3 separate regions of the Homo sapiens genome follow, and all the other regions are linked to region 3. Evidence: promoter capture Hi-C in 16 types of primary human blood cells and fetal thymus (Javierre and others, 2016). All regions are on one chromosome and are shown on one strand. The core of a region is centred on a gene start or on the middle of the fragment in contact, and the rest is flanking DNA. Distances in the headings are between cores, read along the strand shown. Region 1 overlaps PPL (periplakin). Region 2 overlaps UBN1 (ubinuclein 1). Region 3 holds the start of ANKS3 (ankyrin repeat and sterile alpha motif domain containing 3).

Region 1 (2,701 bases), core at 62-2,561, 180 kb before region 3:
TTGGTTTCCCTTTCTTTCTTTGTTTAAAGAAAACAACAGAAGGAGGCTGGGCATGGTGGCTCACACCTGTAATCCCAGCTACTCAAAAGGCTGAGGCAGCCGAATCACTTGACCCCAAGAAGTGGAGGTTGCAGCGAGCCAAGATGATACCACTGCACTTCCAGCCTGGGTGACAGAGTGAGACTCGGTCTCAAAACCACAGAGGCAGAGCTGGGTGATCTCTAAGGCTCCTTGACAACTAAAATCACAAACCTTTGTTCAGACTTATTCTGTGCCCGGCTCTATGCACAGTCCTTTGGTAGTGTAACCTCACTTCCATTCATAACCCCTGCCACCCTGGCCCCGGGAAAGGACTGTTACTCTAGTCCATCGGATTGGGAGACAGAGGCACAGATAGGCAAGGGAGCTGGGCCAAGTCACACAGCCACTAAGTGGCTGATGGGAGCCAAGATCTGAACCCACAGCTAACCCCAGGGCCAAAGTCTTAACTAACTCCCATTAGAGCATTTTCCAGAGTGGTCTGTCTGTGGTTCTGGGGGACGGGGGGCAGTAGACAAATGTGACAGGAGGGGACACAGAGACAGTGAGGGAGAGGGCCAGTCTGCTTTCAAGACTTTTTTTTCTTTTCTTGTTTTTTTTTTTCGAGATGGAGTCTCGCTCTGTTACCCAGGCTGGAGTGCAGTGGTGCAATCTCAGCTCACTGCCACCTCCACCTCCCAGGTTCAAGCAGTTCTCCTGCCTCAGCCTCCCGAGTAGCTGGGACTACAGGCGCATGCCACCACACCTAGCTAATTTTTGTATTTTTAGTAGAGATGGGGTTTCACCATGTTGGCCAGGCTGGTCTCAAACTCCTGATCTCAGGTGATTCGCCCGCCTTGGCCTCCCAAAGTGCTGGGATTACAGGTATGAGCCACCACACCGGGCCTCAAGTCTCTTTCAGGCGCTCTGAGAAGATCAGGAGAAAGGCTGGGCCTGACGCCACCACGGCTGTCACACCTCCTGACTTGTAACAGCGGGCAGCCCAGTGTCACCACGGAACCCAGTGCCACTGCGTTCCCATGAAATTTATTTTGGCAGCTAATTCACTCATGGTGAGGGCTTCTGATTTCTGATTAAAATGGGGAGAGAAGTTACCTTTGTAAACACATTTAACTCTAAAATAAAACGAGTAGGTTGAAAGAAAAATATCAGGTAATTAAAAATAAGACTGCTCACACAAAAGCTTGTTCCCGAACGTTCATAGCAGCGTGATTCTCACGATGGCCCAAAGGTGGAAACGGCCCAGATGGTTGTCAGCTGTTGAATGAATAAGCAAAATGTGAAGTAGCCACGTGATGGAATATTATTCAGCCATAAAAAGAATGAAGTTCTAATAGATGCTGCAATATGCACAAAGCTTGAAAACATTATGCTGAGAGAAGGCAGACGCAAAAGGCCACGTGTTGTGTGATTCTATTTATATGAAATGTCCAGAATAGGCAAATCCATAGAGAGAAAAAGTAAATTCCTGGTTGCCAGGGGCTGGAGCGGGTGGGGAATAGGGAGTGACAGCTTGTGGGTGTGGAGCTTTGGGGTGATAAAAATGTCTGGAATGAGATAGTGGTGATGGTTGCACGATTCTGAATGTGTAGTACTAAAAGCCAGTGACTGTGTATTTTAAACAGGTGAATTTTACGGTATGTGAGTTATCTCCCAATTTTTCAAATATGGTGCGTTTTGCCAACATGGCAAAATAGAAGCATTAGAAGCTGGGTGTGCTGGTGGTGCCAGTGGTCCCAGCTACTCAGGAGGTGGAGGTAGGAGGATTGCTTGAGCTCAGGAGTTCGAGGCTATAGTGAACTATGATCACGCCACTGCACTCCAGTCTGGGTGACAGAGTGAGACCCTATCTCTCACAAAAAAATATGTAGTCGGGGCCTGGTGGCTGACATCTGTAATCCCAGCACTTTGGGAGTCCAAGGTGGACGAATTGCTTGAGCTCAGGAGTTCGAGACCAGCCTGGGTGACATGGTGAAACCCCTTCTCTACCAAAAGAAATGTAAAAGTTATGCAGGAGTGGTGGCATGTGCCTGTAGTCCCAGCTACTTGGGAGGCTGGGCTAGGAGGATTGCTTGAGCCTGGGAGATAGAGGCTGCAGTGAGCCATGACTGTGCCGCTACACCCCAGCCTGGGCAAGAGTGTGAGACTCCGTCTCAATAAAATGAATGAATGAATGAATGAATGAACGAATGAATGAATAAAAATAAAAAATAGAAGCATTAGAGAGAATGATCAAAGTGGAGGCTGGGCGGGCGCGGTGGCTCACGCCTGTAATCCCAGCACTTTGGGAGGCCAAGATAGGTGGATCACTTGAGGTCAGGAGTTCAAGACCAGCCTGGCCAACATGGTGGAACCCCATCTCCACTAAAAATACAAAAATTAGCCAGGCTTGGTGGTGCATGCTTGTAATCTCAGCTACTGGGGAGGCTGAGGCATGAGAATCATTTGAACCCAGGAAGTGGAGGTTGCAGTAAGCTGAGATCACGCCACTGCACTTTAGCCTGGGTGACAGAGCAAGACTCCATCTCAAAAAAAAAAAAAAAAAAAAAAAGGAGGCTGACCGCCTGCCAGGCGCTGCCTTGTCTCTGTGGCTTTAGTGATGTTGCCCTATGGGAACAGCCCAACTACCTCAAAGGCTCTGTGGGCAGCTCCTGCTCAGAGC
Region 2 (2,700 bases), core at 153-2,652, 130 kb before region 3:
CAGGGCTTCAAAATAACACAGACAATTGTACACTCAAATCTAAACTAAGCCCTAAATCCTCTCATCTAAGCTCTGGACCAGAATTTCCAGTTATCTCTGAGAAATTTCCCAATTACAGTCAACGCCTGGTATAGGCAGGGGATTGGTTACAGGACCCCCGTATATACCAAAATCCAACTGCACAGTCAGCCCTGAGGAACCTGCCTATACAAAAAGTTAGCCCTCTATACACAGATTTAGCATCCCTCAAATCAACCCACATTTGGTTAGAAAACATCTGCGTGTAAGTGGATCCACGCAGTTAAACCCTGTGTTGTTCAAGGGTCAACTGCACTTCTGTGGATGGATGACCCTCTGGTTTGCAAACTCAACTTACACCAGACCCACTGGCTTCTGCTCTTCCCCTGTGTTCCCCACTTCTAATAATTGCACTCCAACCTTAAGACCGCCACTCCCTTCTTCAGAACCCTTCAGCAGCTCTTTCCAAGCCTGGTATCAAACCCAAACTCCTTCACATGGCATTTGGGGTCCTCCACGATCTGGCCCAGCCATCCACCAACTCGCCCATCTTCAGCTCTGCTCCCTGCCTTCTCTTAGGGCATCTTCCCCAGGAGGCCGGCGAAGCCTGTTGCCTCCAGTCTGCTTCCTATATGCCCCCCAAGAGCCTCTCTTTAACCCCTTAAGTCCGGCTATCTGGCCGTCCACACATCACAAAGCTTACTTCATTCTGCTCTGTACTACAGTCCATTGTCTGCGTATCTATCGGGTCCATTTATGTAACGAGCTCATGAAAGACAAGAATGGAACCTTGGCCCGGCGCGGTGGCTCACACCTGTAATCCTAACACATTGGGAGGCCAAGGTGGGCGGAACACGCGAGCTCAGGAGTTTCAGACCAGCTTGGGCACATGATGAGACCCTGTCTCTACTAAAAATACAAAAAAAAGCTGGGCATGGTGGTGCATGCCTGTGGTCCCAACTACTCTGGAGGCTGAGGTGGCAGGATCACTTGAGCCCTGGGCGTGGAGGTTGCAGTAAGGCAAGATCGTGCCACTGCACTCCAGCCTGGGTGACAGAGCAAGACCCTGTCTTAAAAAATAATAATAAAATAAAATATAGAACTGAGTCTTATTCATCAGTATATTTCCCATGGCTGCCTGTCACATAATATTTACTAAATGTTGACTGAGTGAATGAATCAACAAATGAAGATACTACTGTAAAACGGCACGCCACAGGAAGAAAAGCTTAACACCAAACAACCAAAACTAAGTCAGAAGAAAATGCGCAAAACTCAAGCTTCTACAGATCCCTTGGCTAGGTGAAAGCCCAGAGGGGTGAAATCCACAGACGAATAATGGAAAAAAAGGGCATGACTTTTCACCCAGCCATGTGCCAATTTCTTACACTCTTGGAAACATTCAGAATTCTACCTTAGCACTTGGAAGGTACTAGAATTATATTAGTCTGGGAAAAAATAAAACTGAACTTTTTTTGCTTAAGCTTACACTGCTAGTTTTAAGATCGAGAAGCACCCTTACATTAATTCAAACTAATTAACATGTATTTCACATGCCACACTTTCAGACCCATCTACAGCTTAAACTTCCAATCAAATTTTATCTTATTATTTTTTATTTTTTTATTTTAGTTTAGTTTTTGAGACGGAGTCTTGTTCTGTTGCCCAGGCTGGAGTGCAATGGCGTGATCTCAGCTCACTGCAACCTCCACCTCCCGGGTTCAAGTGATTCTCCTGCCTCAGCCTCCTGAGTAGCTGGGATTACAGGCACCCACCCCCATGTTCGGCTAATTTTTTGTATTTTTAGTAGAGATGGGGTTTCACCATGTTGGCCAGGCTGGTCTCAAACATCTGACCCCAAGTGATCCGCCCGCCTCAGCCACCCAAAATGCTGGGATTACAGGCTGAGCCACCATGCCCAGCATCTTATTTTATTGAGATGGTCTCACTCTGTCACCCATTCTGGAGTGCAGTGACGTGATCGCAGCTCATACAGCCTTGACCTCCCAGGCTCAAATAATCCTCCCGCCTCAGCTTCCCAAGCAGCTGGGACTACAGCTGCACGCAACCACGCCTGACTAATTTTTAGATTTTTTTTTCTCACTCTGTTACCCAGGCTGGTCTGGAACTCCTGGGCTCAGGTGATCCTCCCACCTCGGCCTCCCAAAGTACTGCGATTACAGGCATGAGCCACCGCGCCCTGCCAAATTTTCTGTTTAGATAGCCACTTGTACAATATTTCAGAAGCTTTCTATGTAATCTTTACGCAATCTTTAAAAATATTTTAAATAATATTATGTAATTTTAGAAAGTACTTTTCTGTAAACCTTTTGAATTGCATAGACAATATCTCTGAGGGTCTGGCTTTATACTGAAGAGTCGACTGCGGCATTTTAAAGTAAATCTAATTAAAAGAGCAATTGGATATATATCTGATAGTCTTCCAAAAATAAATGGGGTCCCTCACCCCTAAAAAGAGACACTCTTACCCCAGAAGTTGTGTGAATTAATCAATCCTAAGTTAACTAGTAAATGAGGTTAAACATCCCAATCATGCTGATTTATAAGAGTTCCAACAGCCTTTTAATGAGCTGTTTTATTTATTCTAAGAAAAGTCACCTGTAGCCTTTTAGCACCCAGCTCAAAATCTTATATACTGTATCTGTTTTTGCTGAGTAGGAG
Region 3 (2,700 bases), core at 148-2,647:
GGAGTCACTAAGTGATTTTTTTTTTTTTTTGGAGTCACTACTCTGACCAGCCCCTGCATTTATATCTTAGAGTCTTAAAGGAGATGGTCCTGTTATTCAGGGGGCTGGGGAGCTTGAGCTTGAGAGCTGGGGGGTGAGGGTCCTCTAGAGCCAGTGTCAGGAGAACTCTGCAGCTCGAGAGGCCGCTGTGGCTTTGGCCCTGCAGTCAGTGCCCGTTCATCCCCAATCAGGGCAGCGGCAGGAGATGTGAATTGGGGGCTGCTTGCTTCCTCTGTACTTCTGGGAATAGGGCAGGTGCTTGGTGCACTCTGAACTGGGAGCAGCGGGTTGGGGACGCATCTGGTGCACACAGCCAGCGGGTGTTTTTTGTAACTAGAGCTCTGTTCCGCAATTCAGGGCACAGTATTTCTTAGGGCAACAGAATCGTCGGGATGAAGAGGGCCTCCAGAGACTCTGATAAACCCTTCAGGCGGACAAGACAATAGGGGAGGGAACGGCATTACCGGCAGAAGGAAGAGCATGTACAGTAGCTCAAAGGAATGAACCGCCCAACAGGTTTAAGGGAAGAAAGTGTCAGTTGCTGGACTCTCCGGTGAAAACGGACCAGACAATGCAGGGCCCTGAACGCCAAGTTGAGGAGCTCAGAGCATCCAGAAGGCGAAGGGGAGGCTCGGAGCCGCCTCTGAATAACGGCCTTCCGGCTCCGTCTCGGGGTGGGTTTCTCAGCTGCAGCCTGTTAGCCCCGCCACAGCCCCGCCCCGGTTCTCAGAGCCCCGCCCCCAGCCGGCCTGCCACGAGGCTGCCGGTTGTTATGGCAACCAGACGCCAACAGCCTCCCGGGTCGAGCTTTTAAATTTTAAAGCTGTGGAAGTGGAAAGCCCATCGCTCCTCCTCTCACCCACCCCCAGCCCGTATTTCCCCGCGTTTTGTTCAACTCCCTGCAGGCGCAGCAGGCCCGAGGCCCCTCACCTCAGGCCTCTGCCTCCACTCCCCGCGCTGTCCTGACAGCGCTATAAACAGCCTCCAGCGCGTCACTCCGCTCGCGTCCGCCCCTCGGGCCGCGCCGCAGGTACAGAGGCTGTCCCCTTCTTCAGCACTCTCCCTCTCAGCGGAGCTTTACATTACTAGACTGCCTCCGCCTTCCCCCCACCCCGCCCAGCTCCTCTTTCGGGCCTTTGCGCGTCCTGCCTCTCCTGCAATGGGATTGGTTCCCCTGGAGGGCGGGGACGGAGCAGGACAAACACCACTAGCTCATTGGCTACCGCGGGCATCAGACAGCGAGCCGGGAAGCTGACCGGAAGGTCCGGGTGCGGGACGTGTGCATTCCACGGCGCCCGGGAGCTGTCCCGGTGCCGACCCGCGAGCTTCCCGGCGTGCTCCGCGCCCTCCCGCAACTACTTCCGGGGCGGGTGCCGGGGGCGGTGCCCCGGCGAGGGAGCGTGGCGGCGAGCTGTTTGGGGGGGGTTGGCGACGGCAGCCCGAGGGCGGCGCAAGGCCTGAGGCCCAGCACAGGTGGGTTCCGCGGCGGCCCGGCCCCAGCACTTGCCGGCACCTGCAGCCCGCCTAGACCCGGCGCTCGGGCGTCCCGCGCTGCACTTGCTCGCCGCGTGACTGGAGGACCGAGCCCCCACATTTTCTTTATGTGGTTGTGGTGGGGGCACAGTAATGCCCTGTGCGCCGTAGCGTTCCTGTGGGGATGTGGCCGGGGGGCGTCGGGAAGCGTCACTGCTGTGAGTTACGGGTTTGTCGGCCAGGGACCCGCCCCGGGGCCAGTGAGCTACCTTTGCGATGCGGTTCCACGGGGCGAGAGGGGGTGCCTGGGTGCTTTCACAGACCTCCTCTGTGGGCGTGACAGTTACCACCAGCATCACATTTGTTAAGATTTTTAAAAATTTTTTAATTTTTGTGGGTACGTAGTAGGTGTATATATTTATGGCGTATATGAGAGATTTTGATACAGGCATGCAGTTCGTAATAATCACATGTAAAATGGGGGTCTCCATCCCTTCAAGCATTTATCCTTTGTGTTACAAACAATATGATTATACTCTTTGAATTATTTTTAAATGTGCAGCCGGGCGCGGTGGCTCACTCACGCCTGTAATCCTAGCACTTTGGGAGGCAAAGGCGGGCGGATCACCTGAAGTCAAGGATTTGAGACCAGCCTGGCCAACATGGGGACACTTCGTCTCTACTAAACATACGAAAACTAGGCTGGCATGGTGGCTCATACCTGTAATCTCAGCTACTCGGGAAGCTGAGGCAGGAGAATCGCTTGAACCCAGGAGGCGGAGGTTGCATTGAGCCGAGATCACGCCGCTGCACTCTAGCCTGGGTAACAGAGTGAGATTATGTCTCAAAAAAAATAATAATAAATAAATAAAATGTGCAATTAGATTATATTGACTATAGTCACCCTGTTGTGCGGTCAAATACTAGATCTTTTTTTTTTTTTTTTTTTTTTTGAGACGGAGTCTCGCTTTGTCGCCCAGGCTGGAGTGCAGTGGCTTGATCAAATACTAGATCTTATTCATTCTGTTTTTTTTGTATCCATTAAGCATCCCCACCCTCCACTACCCTTCCCAGCCTTGGTTACACTAGAAGTAACCATCCTTCTACTTTCTATGTCCATGAGTTCAGTTGTTTTGATTTTTAGATAACCACAAATAATTGAGAACATGCAATATTTATCTTTCTGTG

The links. Contacts are between HindIII fragments. The CHiCAGO score rates a contact against its expected background, and 5 or more counts as called.
Region 1: a fragment that was not itself captured here is called in contact with the fragment with the promoter of ANKS3 in region 3 in 2 of 17 cell types (erythroblasts and M2 macrophages); the score reaches 5.6 in erythroblasts.
Region 2: a fragment that was not itself captured here is called in contact with the fragment with the promoter of ANKS3 in region 3 in 1 of 17 cell types (M1 macrophages); the score reaches 5.1 in M1 macrophages.

Annotation. Positions count from the first base shown.
Region 1 is chr16:4,911,046-4,913,746 of GRCh38, reverse strand. The region is part of intron 1 of PPL (periplakin); the gene reads left to right. It overlaps LOC124903637 (a long non-coding RNA gene), which reads right to left. Exons shown (of 3, transcript XR_007064965.1): 2 at 1,216-1,296. Among named protein-coding and RNA genes, the nearest start is that of PPL, 25 kb to the left of the region's middle. The HindIII fragment of the contact is 174 bases long and covers 1,225-1,398 here.
Region 2 is chr16:4,864,922-4,867,621 of GRCh38, reverse strand. All of the region lies in intron 7 of UBN1 (ubinuclein 1), which reads right to left. Among named protein-coding and RNA genes, the nearest start is that of UBN1, 19 kb to the right of the region's middle. The HindIII fragment of the contact is 204 bases long and covers 1,301-1,504 here.
Region 3 is chr16:4,732,968-4,735,667 of GRCh38, reverse strand. It overlaps ANKS3 (ankyrin repeat and sterile alpha motif domain containing 3), which reads left to right and starts at 1,397. Exons shown (of 18, transcript NM_133450.4): 1 at 1,397-1,730. It overlaps DNAAF8 (dynein axonemal assembly factor 8), which reads right to left and starts at 1,131. Exons shown (of 10, transcript NM_139170.3): 1 at 970-1,131. RefSeq lists silencers at 1,272-1,501, 1,552-1,611. The HindIII fragment of the contact is 25,292 bases long and covers 1-2,700 here.